Linked DNA regions of Homo sapiens: regions 1, 2 and 4 are each linked to region 3. Evidence: promoter capture Hi-C in human tissues and cell types (Jung and others, 2019). All regions are on one chromosome and are shown on one strand. The core of a region is centred on a gene start or on the middle of the fragment in contact, and the rest is flanking DNA. Distances in the headings are between cores, read along the strand shown.

Region 1 (3,264 bases), core at 25-2,524, 140 kb after region 3:
ACTTCTTCAGTGAACCTAACTCTACCCAAACTAAATTAGCCTCCCTTAAACCCATATCCATACAGTCCACCACTGTTTTGTTTCTTTGTAACTCTTACCACTGTCTCAATTTTTCTTGTCTATTTTTTGTGGGCTTCTTACCGGTATCGCCCCACTTAAATGAAAGTTCCCCAACAAGAAAGACATTAGCTTTCTTGTCTTTCTTTATCAGTGTATCCTCAGCACATAGAACAACTTTGTCACATAGTTCTGCAGGTATTCTCCAAATAAACCAATAAGTATATATTCCTTGTCATCTCATTATAAGCAGTTTAGAAAGAAAGAAATATAACTTAACAGACAATTACAATACAGCCTGCTGTGTTAGATGATTTATCTTGCAACATAAATCCTGATTTCAAAACTACTGAATCAACTCACTTTTCCATGAGCGTATTCCCATCTAGTGCAGCTACTTGTCCTGTAGGGCTCTTCCATCTCCTGTCAGTTCATCTGAGTCCTGACCTTCCATCAATACCGAACTAAAGTCTGATCTTGTAGATAATGCGTTTTCCCATTATTTTGGAGCCATCTCCATCACTTCTTCAGGGCTCCTATTGTACCTACTGTTCCCTTGCTCCTAATTTTATGCTAAATGAAATTGATATTGGGCTTTTTAAATATGCATATCTTGTACTGCCAAGCAGGGTGGAACTTTCTCAACAATGAGAATCGTTTTTTTTTTTGTTTTTTTTTCCTATTTTCCTCAGTCTCTATTTGGTGCATCAAACTACTATACGCAGAGTCTGATTACTGATTGTTTGCTCAGTTTTCAAAGGAATTTATTCTAACTTTCCCTTCACAGGTTTGAGTTTTTGGAAGATGGAAAAGGAAATATGAATTGTGCTTATTTTCATAATGGGAAAATGCACCCTACCTTCTGTGAGAACAAACATTATTTAATGTGTGAGAGGAAGGCTGGCATGACCAAGGTGGACCAACTACCTTAATGCAAAGAGGTGGACAGGATAACACAGATAAGGGCTTTATTGTACAATAAAAGATATGTATGAATGCATCAGTAGCTGAAAATTGCTTATTTCTCCCTTTCTTCTCACTGGAGTTATTTTTAATATTATCTTTCCTATCAGAATTACCTAGTCCCTTCTTTGAATATACAGAAGCCATCACGTGAGTTTATCATTTGCTTCCCAATTGTTCTATTTTCCTTTAATTTTCTTTCTTCTTGTCCTTCATTTCTAATTACCTGAACATGGTATGATTTACTGCATCTTCAGATATACACATATAACATCAAAATCAGGCCAATATAGGTTAGGGCTTAATTAATATAAGTTGTGCAAAATATCTATGTTTGAAATCTGTCCAAAATATCTAAGTTTGAAAGGCGGTGTAAGATAGTAAAAAGAATATTAAACTTAGAATCAGCAAAATAATTTAGATGTCAATTAACTAAATTACAATCATGAACAAGTTTCATAACCTCTTTAACTTCCCTTTTCTCATATTTAAAATAGGAATAATAACAACCATCTTTTATATCTCACAGTTCTACAACCTAAAATAGAACTTTAGAGTGTTAACTGTACCAGAAACTCCATGAAAGCGAACACTATGACTTCCCCATTCACTATTCTCTTACCAGCACCAACCCGAAACCCTGGCTCACAAAACAGAGAGATATTTGTTTCTCTTTGTATAAGATAGTTCATGAGAAAAATAGCTCAATCATTAAAACATTACGCAAATAGAATTACTATTCCAAGTCTACCTCTGGTTAGATTCAACAGTAGTAATTTTCTGCGCTAGAGAAGGAAAAGAAAGTTTGCAAGAAAACTCACTGGGTTTGTAAAATGAATAAATGCTTCTTAAGTTTCAGAGGCTACTAGACAGAAGGACAAGTAAAAATGCTTTAATTAGTATTTTCCTAACAGTTCTGTGCTTTATTTTTGCTGAGTAACTCAGGAAGTATTTACAGAATATGTGGAAAGGCACCCTTTTACAGGATAATAGGAAAAAATTGCATTTCTTTCCCACAGCTTCCCTTTTTTAACTAGTGGCTACCATTTACGAACATGATTCTCAAACATCTCAACGGAGGTTTTGGTTAAAACATAGAGAAACCAAATAGGAAACTCAAATGCTGATGTTACTCAGTGGGAAGACTGAGGAGACACAGAGACCTGGGTTTTTACCAGCATCACGACACAATTCTCATACAAGTAGTCTTTAATACAGTTAGAGAAATATCACTACTTTAGAACTTACTCTCTATCTGGCTTTGGATAAGTAATGTTCTCACCTTGAAATGGGTTTAATATTATTACCTTGCTCATAAGTTAATTGTGAAGCTCATTTAATATGATTATATAAAGTATCGATCAGAATACCAAGTATGTAATACATACTCAATAAATATGTGTTACTCTTAAAGCTTTGTGCGCTAACACTGAAAGACACTTGAATCTTTATCTTTTTTCTAGCCTATCAATAATTAAGCAGATTTGGAGGGCTTAGGAAAAATAATAGAAATACCTCAAATTTTACTTGTTACTTCAAATGTCTGGAGATCTTGGATTTGGGTGATGGTATCAGTATGTTTTTTATTTTGAATTGTCTATTTAGAGAAACTAAATAGGAACCAATAATTCAGAAAACTGTACAAAATTAGCAACTCAACTTTGTTTCATCTCCCTAAAATGGAAAAACATATGTGTATACATCCCTATAGCACACATAAACTTAGAAGAATAATATCTTAGTGCATGGCAACAATACAATTAAAAATGTAGGCCAATCACTGTGATTCTTTTTCTGGTATTCATATCTAAAGTATCTTATACATAAAATCAAAATAGCACAAACGTTAGTAGCACAGATCAGACCACCTCATTTCAAATACTAAATCTTCTACATGTCATCTAAGTGAACTCCAGCAAAATTTGACTTCTGTCTTCTTCAATTTAAAACTAACTTACAGGCATGCCTCGGAAATATTGTGGGTTCAGTTCCAGACCACCACAATAAAGCAATTATTGCAATAAAGTGAGTCACATTAATTATTTGCTTTCCCAATTCGTGTAAAAGTTATGTTTGAGCTACAACGTCTTCTATTAAGTATACAACAGCATTATGTCTGGAAAATGTACATAGTTTTATTAAAAATAGTTTATTGCTAAAAATGCTGATTATTTGAGTCTTTAGTGAGTGAAAATCTTTTTGCTGGTGTAGCGTCTTGCCTTGATGTTGATGGCTGCTGATGGA
Region 2 (3,180 bases), core at 467-2,966, 160 kb after region 3:
TCATTGTCAAGCCACAAATTTTCTGAACTTTTATGCTCTGCTTCCCTTATAAAACTGAATGCTTTTAACAGCACCCGAGTCACGTCTTTAATGCTTTGCTGCTTAGAAATTTCTTCTGCCAGATATCCTAAATCATCCCTCTCAAGTTCAATGTTCCACAAATTTCTAGGGCAGGAGCAAAATGCTACCAGTCACTTTGCTAAAACATAACAAGAGTCACCTTTGCTCCCGTTCCCAACAAATTCCTCATCTCCATCTGAGACCACCTCAGCCTTATCACCATTTTTGTCAAAGCCATTCAAGAAGTCTCTAGGAAGTGCCAAACTGTCCCACATTTTTCTGTCTTCTTCTGAGCCCTCCAAAGTATTCCAACCTCTGCCTGTTGCCCAGTCCCAAAGTCTCTTTCAGATTTTTGGGTATCTTTACAGCAGCGCCCTACTCTATTGGTACCAATTTACTGCATTAGTTCATTTTCACACGACTGATAAAGACATACCCACAACTGGGTAATTTATAAGTAAAAAGAGGTTTAATGGACTCATGGTTCCATGTGGCTGGAGAGGCCTCACACTCATGGTGGAAGGTGAAAGGCACATCTCACATGGCCACAGACAAGAGAGAACTTGTGCAGGAAAACTCCTCTTTATAAAACCATCAGATCTCATGAGACTTATTCACTATCACAAGAACAGCATGGGAAAAACCCGCTCCCATGATTCAATTACCTCCCACCATGTCCCTCCTACAGCATGTGGGACTTATGGGAGCTACAATTCAAGATGAGATTTGGGTGGAGACACAGTCAAACCATATCAGTATGTTTTGGTTTGAATTCTGGTTCTGCTGCTTATTGCTTGTGAAACCTCGGGAAAATTATTTAACACCTTTTAACATCTCTGTGTCTGAGTTTCAATATGGTTAAAGCATGGGAGACAGAAAGACTGCAAAGTATCAGACACTAAATAATTTAATATTTATAATGCAATTAGAACAGAACTGGCACAGAGAAAACACTTGAAAATTGTATTTAAATATATATTTATATGTGTATTTAATGAGATGAGGCTGTCTGGAGAGAGAGACAATTTTAGAAGAAAAATAAATATTACTATTTTTGACATTTTAAGTTTAAAATGAGATTAGAACTCCTTATGGAAATGTGAAAGTGGCACATGTATTTTCTAGTCTTGAGATTCAGGGAAAGGTCATACAGAGATATTGGGGAGTCACTCTATTTAAAGTCAAACAACTGAATGAGGTAGATTAGAAGAGTGTACTGAGTGATGCAATAAAACGGGACCCAGGACAGGGCTTCAGAGTATTCCATCTTGTAGAGTTTCATCTAGGAGGAGGAATCAACAAAGAATGAGGAGAGGCAGGCATGGTGACAGGAGAAGCCATGAGGATGTGTCAGGAGGGATGTGCAAAGAAAGCATTTAGAGGACTGTTCAACTTTTTCAATGCTGCAGGGAAGTGAAGTAATGGAAGAGACATGTGACTATTGGGATGAAACAGGCAGGACATCAGTGACCTAAAGCTCAGTCTCTATGGCACCAAGGGGGCAGAAGCCTAATAGAGTTGGTTGAGAACAGAATGAGAGGTGAAGAACTGAGAGTCAGTGGCCAAAGAAAATGCTTTCAAAAGTTGAGTTGTGAAAGGAAACAAAGAAGTTAAATAATAATGGAAAGGCTTAAGTGGTCAAGCAAGGATTGTGTTTTGTTATAAAAGGAGTAGCAGAGTATATTGGTGAGTAGTAGAGTATGTTGGTGCACCAAAAAGGAAAAGCAGAGAAGGAAGAGAGAATAATGACACAGGAGAGAAAGGAAAAAATTACGGAAGTCTGTCTTTGAAAACGACACATGGACTGAAATTCAGAGCAAAATGAGGAGCCGTCCCTTCATAAGTACATACTTATCGTAAATACTATCTGGAAGGAAAGCAGAGTATCAGTAAGGACATGGTAGGATAGACATTTAAATAACAACAAAAAAAAGTGTAGATGGATGCTTTTTTCTTACCAGAGGAAAGGTGAGAGTAACTGGGGTTGAAAATTTGTGTATTTTTCACCAGCAATATTCAACTCTGGGGCAGACTGGGTGGATATTCGGGTTTAACCAGAACTGGAGTTGTTTTTATTTGTTTGTTTTTGGGGTTTTTGTCTTGTTTTGTTTTGATTTGTTTGAGGCAGGATCTTGCTGTGTCACCCAGACTGGAGTACACTCGCCTGATCTTAGCTTACTAGAGCCTCCAACTCCTGGACTCAAGTAATCCTCTTTCCTCAGCCTCCCAAGCAGCTGAGACTATGGGTGCCCAGTTAATTAAAAAAATTTTTTTTTTATAGACATGGCATATCTCTACTTTCCCCAGGCTGGTCTCAAACTTCTGGCCTCAAATAATCCTCCCATCTTGGCCTCTCAAAGTGCTAGGACTATGGGTATGAGCCACTGCACCTAGCCAGAGCTGGAGTTTTTAAGGAAAAATTAACACACATTGAAGAGGAGAAGTGTAAGAGACTAAGAGTAGACATTACATAATACAATGTTATATTACATAATGTAGATTCTAAGCTCGATAATGAGAAAATTAGATGAGATTAAGAACATGAAGAAGACATGGATTCAATATTTCCGTGAATTCAGGGAATTCTTGTGGTGGGAACTTAAGGTGGATTGGCAGGAAAAGAGGTGGGAAAGGGTGTGAGAGGACAAGTAAAGGGCAATTGTTGGTAATATTAGGCTCATGATATGCCCATTCTCTTTCAGTGTATAAAAGAAGAAATATAAACAAGGAAATAAAGACAGAAAATATTGTAAAATTCTTAAACCCTTCTTCTTTCTAAAAAAAAATTTCAGTATTAAAAAAGAAGCCAACAGAATTAATCTGCTATCCTTTCTCAAGATTTACAATGCTCATCATAAATGGATCCAAGATGTAACAGTGAAATTTCTGTTTATAGCAATGCTAGAATATTAAAGATGTTATATTCTGTGTGGGGAGAGGAGAGAGGACAACAACTTAAATAATATGTGAGAATTTTGGCACTCTTCTCTCCTTATTTTTCTGTTTCTATCACCCTTCTTTGTGTTCTCCACTATCACTGTTTAAGTTATTTTTAACTCAAATACACTGATTTAAACTATGGATTCGCTAGGGCAGATTTCACTCCCAAAAGGCTAGGAG
Region 3 (3,493 bases), core at 725-3,224:
TAGTCCCAGCTACTTGGGAGGCTGAGGCAGGAGAATGGCGTGAACCCAGGAGGCAGAGCTTGCAGTGAGCCGAAATCGCGCCACTGCACTCCAGCGTGGGCAACAGAGCGAGACTCTGTCTCAAAACAACAACAACAACAAAAAACTTGGTAACAGATAGGCTCCTGAATTCCTTTTAGAGCAGTTACTTTAGAAATCTTACAGTTAGGCCAGGTGCAGTGGCTCACGCCTGTAATCCCAGCACTTTGGGAGGCCGAGGCAGGCGGATCACCAGAGGTCAGGGGTTCAAGACCAGCCTGACCAACATGGAGAAATGCTGTCTCTACTAAAAATACAAAATTAGCCTGGCGTGGTGGCACATGCCTGTAATCCCAGCTTACTCAGGAGGCTGAGGCAGGAGAATCGCTTGAACCCGGGAGGCGGAGGTTGTGGTGAGCCGAGATCGTGCCATTTGCACACCAGCCTGGGCAACAAGAGCGAAATTTCGTCTAAAAAAAAAAAAAGAAAGAAAAGAAAAATAAATCTTACAGTTAAATTCTTTCTCTGCCCTTTGAGAAGCAAATCTACCACACAGAACTGTTTCTTCAAGGACTTGGGAGCTGTTTCTTTGAAATGCAAACATTCAGGGAGATAAATCTTGCTCTTTCTTTCAGATGCAGCATAAGGACCAACTTAGCTGGGTGCTTCACTTCAACTATCACCATGTCCTTCTGTCATATAGATAGGCAAAGTTTCTCTGTCCTCTGGATAAGGGCCAATTAACAAATCCAGAGAGTCTAGTCACATTAACTTTCCTTAACACCACTCAGTATCTTTTCCTTAGCAAACTCCACTTTAAAATGTCATCAGCTTTACTTTTGGGGAAGTTGAGTTCAGTTAATGCTGCACTGGTTCCTGTTGCAATAGTATTACTGAATAAAACCTGTCCTCACCACATTAACTAGTATCCAGATTTGTTGATCCTTGACAACACTCAGATGTCTCCTGCACTCTACTGGCTTCAAGGTCGGATAAATGAGTTGAACACCTCTTCAGTTTCCAGCAATGTTAGGTGTTTTCTATATTTCTTTGATTTGATCATTACTATGGAAACTGGAAGAGAGGGAAAAAAAATCAAACATCTAACATAATATTTCAGTCCCAACACCTTCCATAAGCTGTTCCTTGCAATATAAGTGTATGGAATGATGAAAGAGGCAGTGTAGCGTAACAGAAAAGACCACGAGTTTTGCAGCAAGAGTCAGCTTTGATTTGATTCCTTGCTCTAAATTTTTAAAATTAGCTTCTTAAACCTGAGAAAGAGGCTAAATTTTCTGTCTCATTTTTTCATTTGAAAATAGAAATAATAATGCCTACTATATAGACTTGGAAAAGTGAGATTGAACAAGAAAATATGTACAACATGTGGTACTTAGCTCATAGTAATTGTTCAATAAATGTTATTTTGTGTTAATATCTGATAATTCCCAAAGAGATTTGTTTTCTCTGTCTGTTGTTACAACAATGCATCTCCTCATGCCATCCCTCATTTACCTATCTATATATTTCCTTTATTAAGCAATGAGTTTCTTCATAGGTATCATTTTTCCTTGTATTGTAAGCTCCTACCAATTGAAAAGGTGGGCATCCAGTACCTGTTTATGTAATTTAAAAAATACATGAATAAATACATGAACAAAGTTATGGTAAACTTGGAGCACCAAAACTGAAATAGTTTGCATCGGTTAAATTAATTAATGTCAGACTTAGTTGTGAGAGTAATGAAGGCAGCATAAGACATTAATGTATGCATTTTTCTTACATTTGGTCTGAAACAAAGACTCATCTGCTATGCTGCCTTTTAGTTTTCCTGAGTCAGCAGTCTCAGAAACAGGATCTAAAGGTACAAATGGAAAATTACCACAGCATAGTTTCATTTCCTGCTCTTGAATATCTGGTTGAACTACTTAAGCTTAATTTGTTAAACTCCGGTAAGTACCTAGCCCACATGATTTGACTCAGAGATTCTCTTTTGTCCACAGACAGTCATCTCAGGAGCAGAAAGAAAAGAGCTCCCAAATGCTATATCTATTCAGGGGCTCTCAAGAACAATGGAATATCATCCTGATTTAGAAAATTTGGATGAAGATGGATATACTCAATTACACTTCGACTCTCAAAGCAATACCAGGATAGCTGTTGTTTCAGAGAAAGGTATATATATGTTTTTTCTAATGTGTGCCTTTAGCTCTCCCGTTTGAAAAGATATAAGGGGAGGCTAGGCATGGTGGCTCACACCTGTAATCCCAGCACTTTGGGAGGCCGAGGCGGGTGGATTGACTGAGGTCAGGAGTTCGAGGCCAGCTTGGCTAACGTGGTGAAACTCTGTCTCTACTAAAAATACAAAAATTAGCCGGGCATGGTGGTGCACGCCTGTAGTTCCAGGTACTTGGGAGGCTGAGGCAGGAGAATCACTTGAACCTGGGAGGTGGAGGTTGCAGTGAGCCAAGATCATGCCAATGCACTCCAGCCTGGGTGGCAGAGCAAGACTCCATCTCTGAAAAAAAATAAAAATAAAAACAAAACAAAAAGATATAAGGGGAGAAAATTTGAGAGCCTCGTGATGTGTATATTTTTATGGATATACTTTTAAAGGCTTCAGATGTCACTGAAGATAAATTGAATGCACCCTAAACCTTTTTTCATGAAAATTATTCAGTGACCAATTATTAGTGTTTAAATTAATTATGTCTGATGGCAGAAAATAGAATTTCTCTTTTCTATAGATATAGACATTTCATCAGTGAGGAATTGGTAATAAGTGGGATAATACACAAAGATAAAGGATTTCTGTATGAGTGACTTGTTGCTTGTTTGATAGAAAGGCTAGATTATCGAATGGAGGCCAGGAAACTTAAAGAAGTATATATATGAACAACATTTTTTTTTTGTGGTAAGAGATTAATTTAAATTGTTTTTAAACAAAAAACAATTATTGGTATACCAGTGATGGAAAATATATGAACATATGGTAGATAAAAACATCCCACCAGCAGGACATGAGTCTTAAACAAAGTGTAAATGAAATGAAATAGAAAGAAGGGCATTGGAGGATCTCTGTATTCATAGAATGGGTGATTTAGCCTACTCTACGATTCTCCTATGTGACAATTCTATGAAATGTCCTGACAGCTTAGTCACAGTGGAAAGCAGAAATACATTCTGGTTATGGCAATGTTCATACAAAATTAGTTCCCTATTATCTTTGAGAGAGAGAGATCATTTGTCGGTTTTGACACCAGAGTTTGCTTTCTTCTGCTTTCTGGTTATTCACACTGCACAAATATTTTCCTCTCAGCACTGATGTAATTCTTTTCTTGGGCAACCTATTGAGGAAGCGTGGAAAAAGTGGATGAGGCAAGAGGTAGGGAGACATGCGCATGTTTATGCATATGTGTAGGCAAACGGTATCCTGCAACAACACACCTATCATGTGCTAGCAGTCTCTAAACAA
Region 4 (3,372 bases), core at 143-2,642, 190 kb after region 3:
TGTTGGCCAAACTGGTTTCAAACTCCTTGACTTCAGATGCTCTGCCTGCCTCAGCCTCCCAATGTGCTGGGATTACAGGCGTGAGCCACAGTGCCCGGCCGTATATGTATATTTTAAAGAGAATGTCTGTGGGGAGTAGGGTGTGTGTATAAACTTTACTTTGCGTGGTTCTAATATGCATAAACTTCACTTCTCACAGTTTAATTAAATAACTCCCCAACAGCACAGTTTAATTCTTTCAGCGTACTTATCTGTATTTGTATTATATTTACTGTAAGTAATTGTATAAAGTAGAAACTTCCATGCTAGTTTTTCAGTTCACGAATCACTATATACATGTTTGTATTGTGATTAACGACCAACCATGTCACTTTTTTCCAAGTCTGTCAATGATTGATTGGTCACCATGCATCTTTTATCAGTTAATACAGAATAAGATGGAGAGTTATTCTGTATTATTTTGTAAATGTCACATGGGTTTGTCACTGTATGACAAATTCCAAAGGAAATTTGAAACAGGAAGACAAGAAGAGGAAGGTAATTGAAACAGGAAATTGGTTAGTGACACAAAGTGCAGCAAAAAATGATGGCGCTGAAAGGGGAAATAAAATAGAAGAGAAATGAAGTTAGAGAAGCAATAGCTGTTGATAGGGTTATTAATAATTCACCTTTTGAAGAGTCTCTAGATAATGCAACCAGAGGAATTTAGTAAAGGCACACTTATTGACAAAAATAAGGTAAGTGGTTGTGATGAAAAGAATGAAGAGGTCCCAGAGGAAGTTATACGAGCTAAAGTGTTCACATCAAATGAACTCTCAATGTGTTTCCTAACATTTCAAGTGCAAAGAATAGTATATTGGAAGTCTATCCAAATTTAGGAATAAAAAAGCTTGAGAAGGCATCTAAAAGATGCTGGCTCCATATTGTAAGCGATAGAACAACAACAGCACGTACTCAATTCACACTACTCATTTTCTTTTAAGCAAAACACTTGAAACTCAGTGTTTTTAATGTTTTAATTATAGCATACTTTAAAAATATTAATTTTATTGTTGTTTACATTTCCCTATACGTTTATGAGTGACAGTAAAGTAATTTTCAATCAGGAAAAGAGGATAAAGGAAAAATCATACTTTTCCCTATTATTAAAATAGCTTGGTGTGATATCAGCTTGTGCAGTAATTTTTATTATCACACACTACAGTGCAAAATAAAAACTGCCTGTATATGAAACAAGCTTTCATTAGTTCCTATGAAAACATGTAAAAACAATGGCTTTGTTTTCCCACATTTTACTAAACACTCCACAGGTACACTTAGAACACAGTGGTTAAAAATGTAGAACAGAAAAAAGTTATTAAAAACAAGAAAATGGGGGCAGATCCACTTTGTGGCGTGAGAGAATGTGTACACTTTCCAGTGCAGGCAATTTATGTTATATACCTGTGTCCAATCGGAGATTTTTAGGGAGACAATATAAAGAAGCCGGAAAGGGAGGGTATGGGACTCCCCATTCTCTGCTCTGCGTACCAAGCAGGTGGGAGGTGAGGTGCCCATTAGGTTGAATTCTTATCGCTGTGCCCCAGCCAATCGTGGGCTGCGGAAATCATGGGCTGTAGAGTCATCGCTGCCGGGGCAGAGGCACCGTTGGTGCATGCCCGGCTGCCGTTGCTGCCCCTGCCTCGTACAAACGTCAGAGAAGGCACATGACACGCCCCTGGGGGCCATCTGGCCCAAGTCCACCTGCGCGGCTGAGTGGAGGATGCTAGGTTGCTGTGCTGTTTCTCCTACTGTCTTGCTGCCGCACCACCCCTCAGAAAAACCGGGTCGTCAGTTTCCTGCGGTTTGCACTCACCAAATATACTTAGCAATTTGCAATTCACCCGCAGGATTATTCCAGCCTCTGTGATCACACACAGAAGGATGAGCCTTCCTCGTGAGGGTTGGAGATGGAGGGAGAAGGGATGGAGAGTAAGGATGGGACGGAGGTTGTGGAGCAGCAGACCAACACGCCAGGTGGGTGAGGTTGTGTGATTATTCTAGCATCTTTTCTTGATCCTAGCTTGCACCCTTTTAGCATTGGGAGGGAAGGGCAGGGTAGGGGATAGCGACCATAATATAGATCTTAAGTAAAAGCAGTTTTCATTAATAAAACAAAGACTTCAATAATAATGATAATTGGCGATTCCAGCCTCCTCCATCATATTGGAAAAGACAGTATTTCATTAAAAATACTTGGAATTTTCCCTTGGAAAAGGCAGTATTTTATTAAAAGACGCTGCGAGGAAACTGTTGGTTTTCTGTTCTGGAAGCAGGGCAGAAGAATTAGTAACACAGTTCTGCCAAATAGCACAGGAAAGTGGAGCCAAAGCACCTTCGAGGCTCCTGATGTTCAAACGTTAGGTCTTAGTTCCCTTTCTTATTTTTCTAATACATTAATTGCTGAATTGTGAACAGTAGAACACGCGGAAGATAGAGAAAAGAGATAAACATGATGGGTTTTTTGTTGGTTTGCTTGCTTTTTTTCTCTCTGGAACATAAACAATGACATCTGTTTCTCTTTGGTATAATAGAAAGGAAAATAATGATCATCTCAATTTTTATATGTGGAGGCATTGCTTTTCTTCTTTGGGGGATTTTAAGATTTCCCAGAAAATGTAAGTAAACAATTTCTGCTAAAATTATTAAATTAAATTGTTAAAATTATTGTATTATTGATTCAGTTGGATACCAATAACTAGTCTTTCCTTCCTTAATATAGAACAATTTAGAGATAAAAGCATTTTCCAAGACAGTGCATCTAATTGCTCTTCAAACTTAGTCACCTGCTTCACCTTCTAGAATAATCAGTCTTTCAATAAATATGTATCAAGCTTTAGGCACAGTGCTGCCTGCTGATGATATAACAATGAAAAAAAATGGTATTTCTTGCCTGAAAGTAGTTTATCTTTAACTGAATATGGAAGCATGTAAGCAAACAACTGTAACACAAAAGAAATAATTACTAAATAGAACTATGTTGAATTTGAAGCAGGAGAGGAGATTATAAGTTAGCTGCTTGTAGTCAAGGCTTTAATGAAGGGAGAAATATTTGTGCTGAATCTTAAACTCAAGTAGGCGTTTATCAAAGATCATCTTAGAACACACATGTCAGAGAATCACACCAGGTATAATTATGATGGAGTTACAAAGAAGTAGGGTGAGGGACTGGCAATTGTATTATAGTTCCCTAGTGCATTAACTCTTTCACTGCCATTCATTAGCAATTTATACCTTGTCCTTCATCTCCATTCTCCTCATGCTCATTCTCATGTCTATACCCTTGCTTCCAACTTGTTCTAATTTTAACAATTTGTAGGAAACTTCCAAATG

The links. The method cuts DNA at HindIII sites, captures the fragments that hold promoters and counts their contacts. A contact is called where the count stands out against the background at its distance.
Region 1: a fragment that was not itself captured here is called in contact with the fragment with the promoter of CLEC7A in region 3 in 1 of the 25 tissues and cell types used here (mesenchymal stem cells).
Region 2: a contact is called between a fragment that was not itself captured here and the fragment with the promoter of CLEC7A in region 3, in 2 of the 25 tissues and cell types used here (H1 embryonic stem cells and mesendoderm cells).
Region 4: a contact is called between a fragment that was not itself captured here and the fragment with the promoter of CLEC7A in region 3, in 3 of the 25 tissues and cell types used here (lymphoblastoid cells, mesendoderm cells and thymus).

Annotation. Positions count from the first base shown.
Region 1 is chr12:9,990,868-9,994,131 of GRCh38, reverse strand. CLEC1B (C-type lectin domain family 1 member B) reads left to right here. Exons shown (of 6, transcript NM_016509.4): 6 at 845-1,057. The coding sequence ends at 989. It also overlaps a transcript of CLEC12A not described here. Among named protein-coding and RNA genes, the nearest start is that of CLEC1B, 6.6 kb to the left of the region's middle. The HindIII fragment of the contact is 4,209 bases long and covers 1-3,264 here.
Region 2 is chr12:9,972,455-9,975,634 of GRCh38, reverse strand. The region is part of intron 1 of CLEC12A (C-type lectin domain family 12 member A); the gene reads right to left. Among named protein-coding and RNA genes, the nearest start is that of CLEC12A, 2.6 kb to the right of the region's middle. The HindIII fragment of the contact is 8,813 bases long and covers 1-3,180 here.
Region 3 is chr12:10,128,680-10,132,172 of GRCh38, reverse strand. CLEC7A (C-type lectin domain containing 7A) reads left to right here and starts at 1,974. Exons shown (of 6, transcript NM_197947.3): 1 at 1,974-2,193. The coding sequence starts at 2,091. It overlaps LOC105369655 (a long non-coding RNA gene), which reads right to left. Exons shown (of 4, transcript XR_007063208.1): 2 at 933-1,092; 3 at 381-488. The HindIII fragment of the contact is 18,210 bases long and covers 1-3,493 here.
Region 4 is chr12:9,941,774-9,945,145 of GRCh38, reverse strand. LINC02470 (long intergenic non-protein coding RNA 2470) reads left to right here and starts at 1,651. Exons shown (of 5, transcript NR_104634.2): 1 at 1,651-2,016; 2 at 2,574-2,657. The HindIII fragment of the contact is 3,847 bases long and covers 1-3,315 here.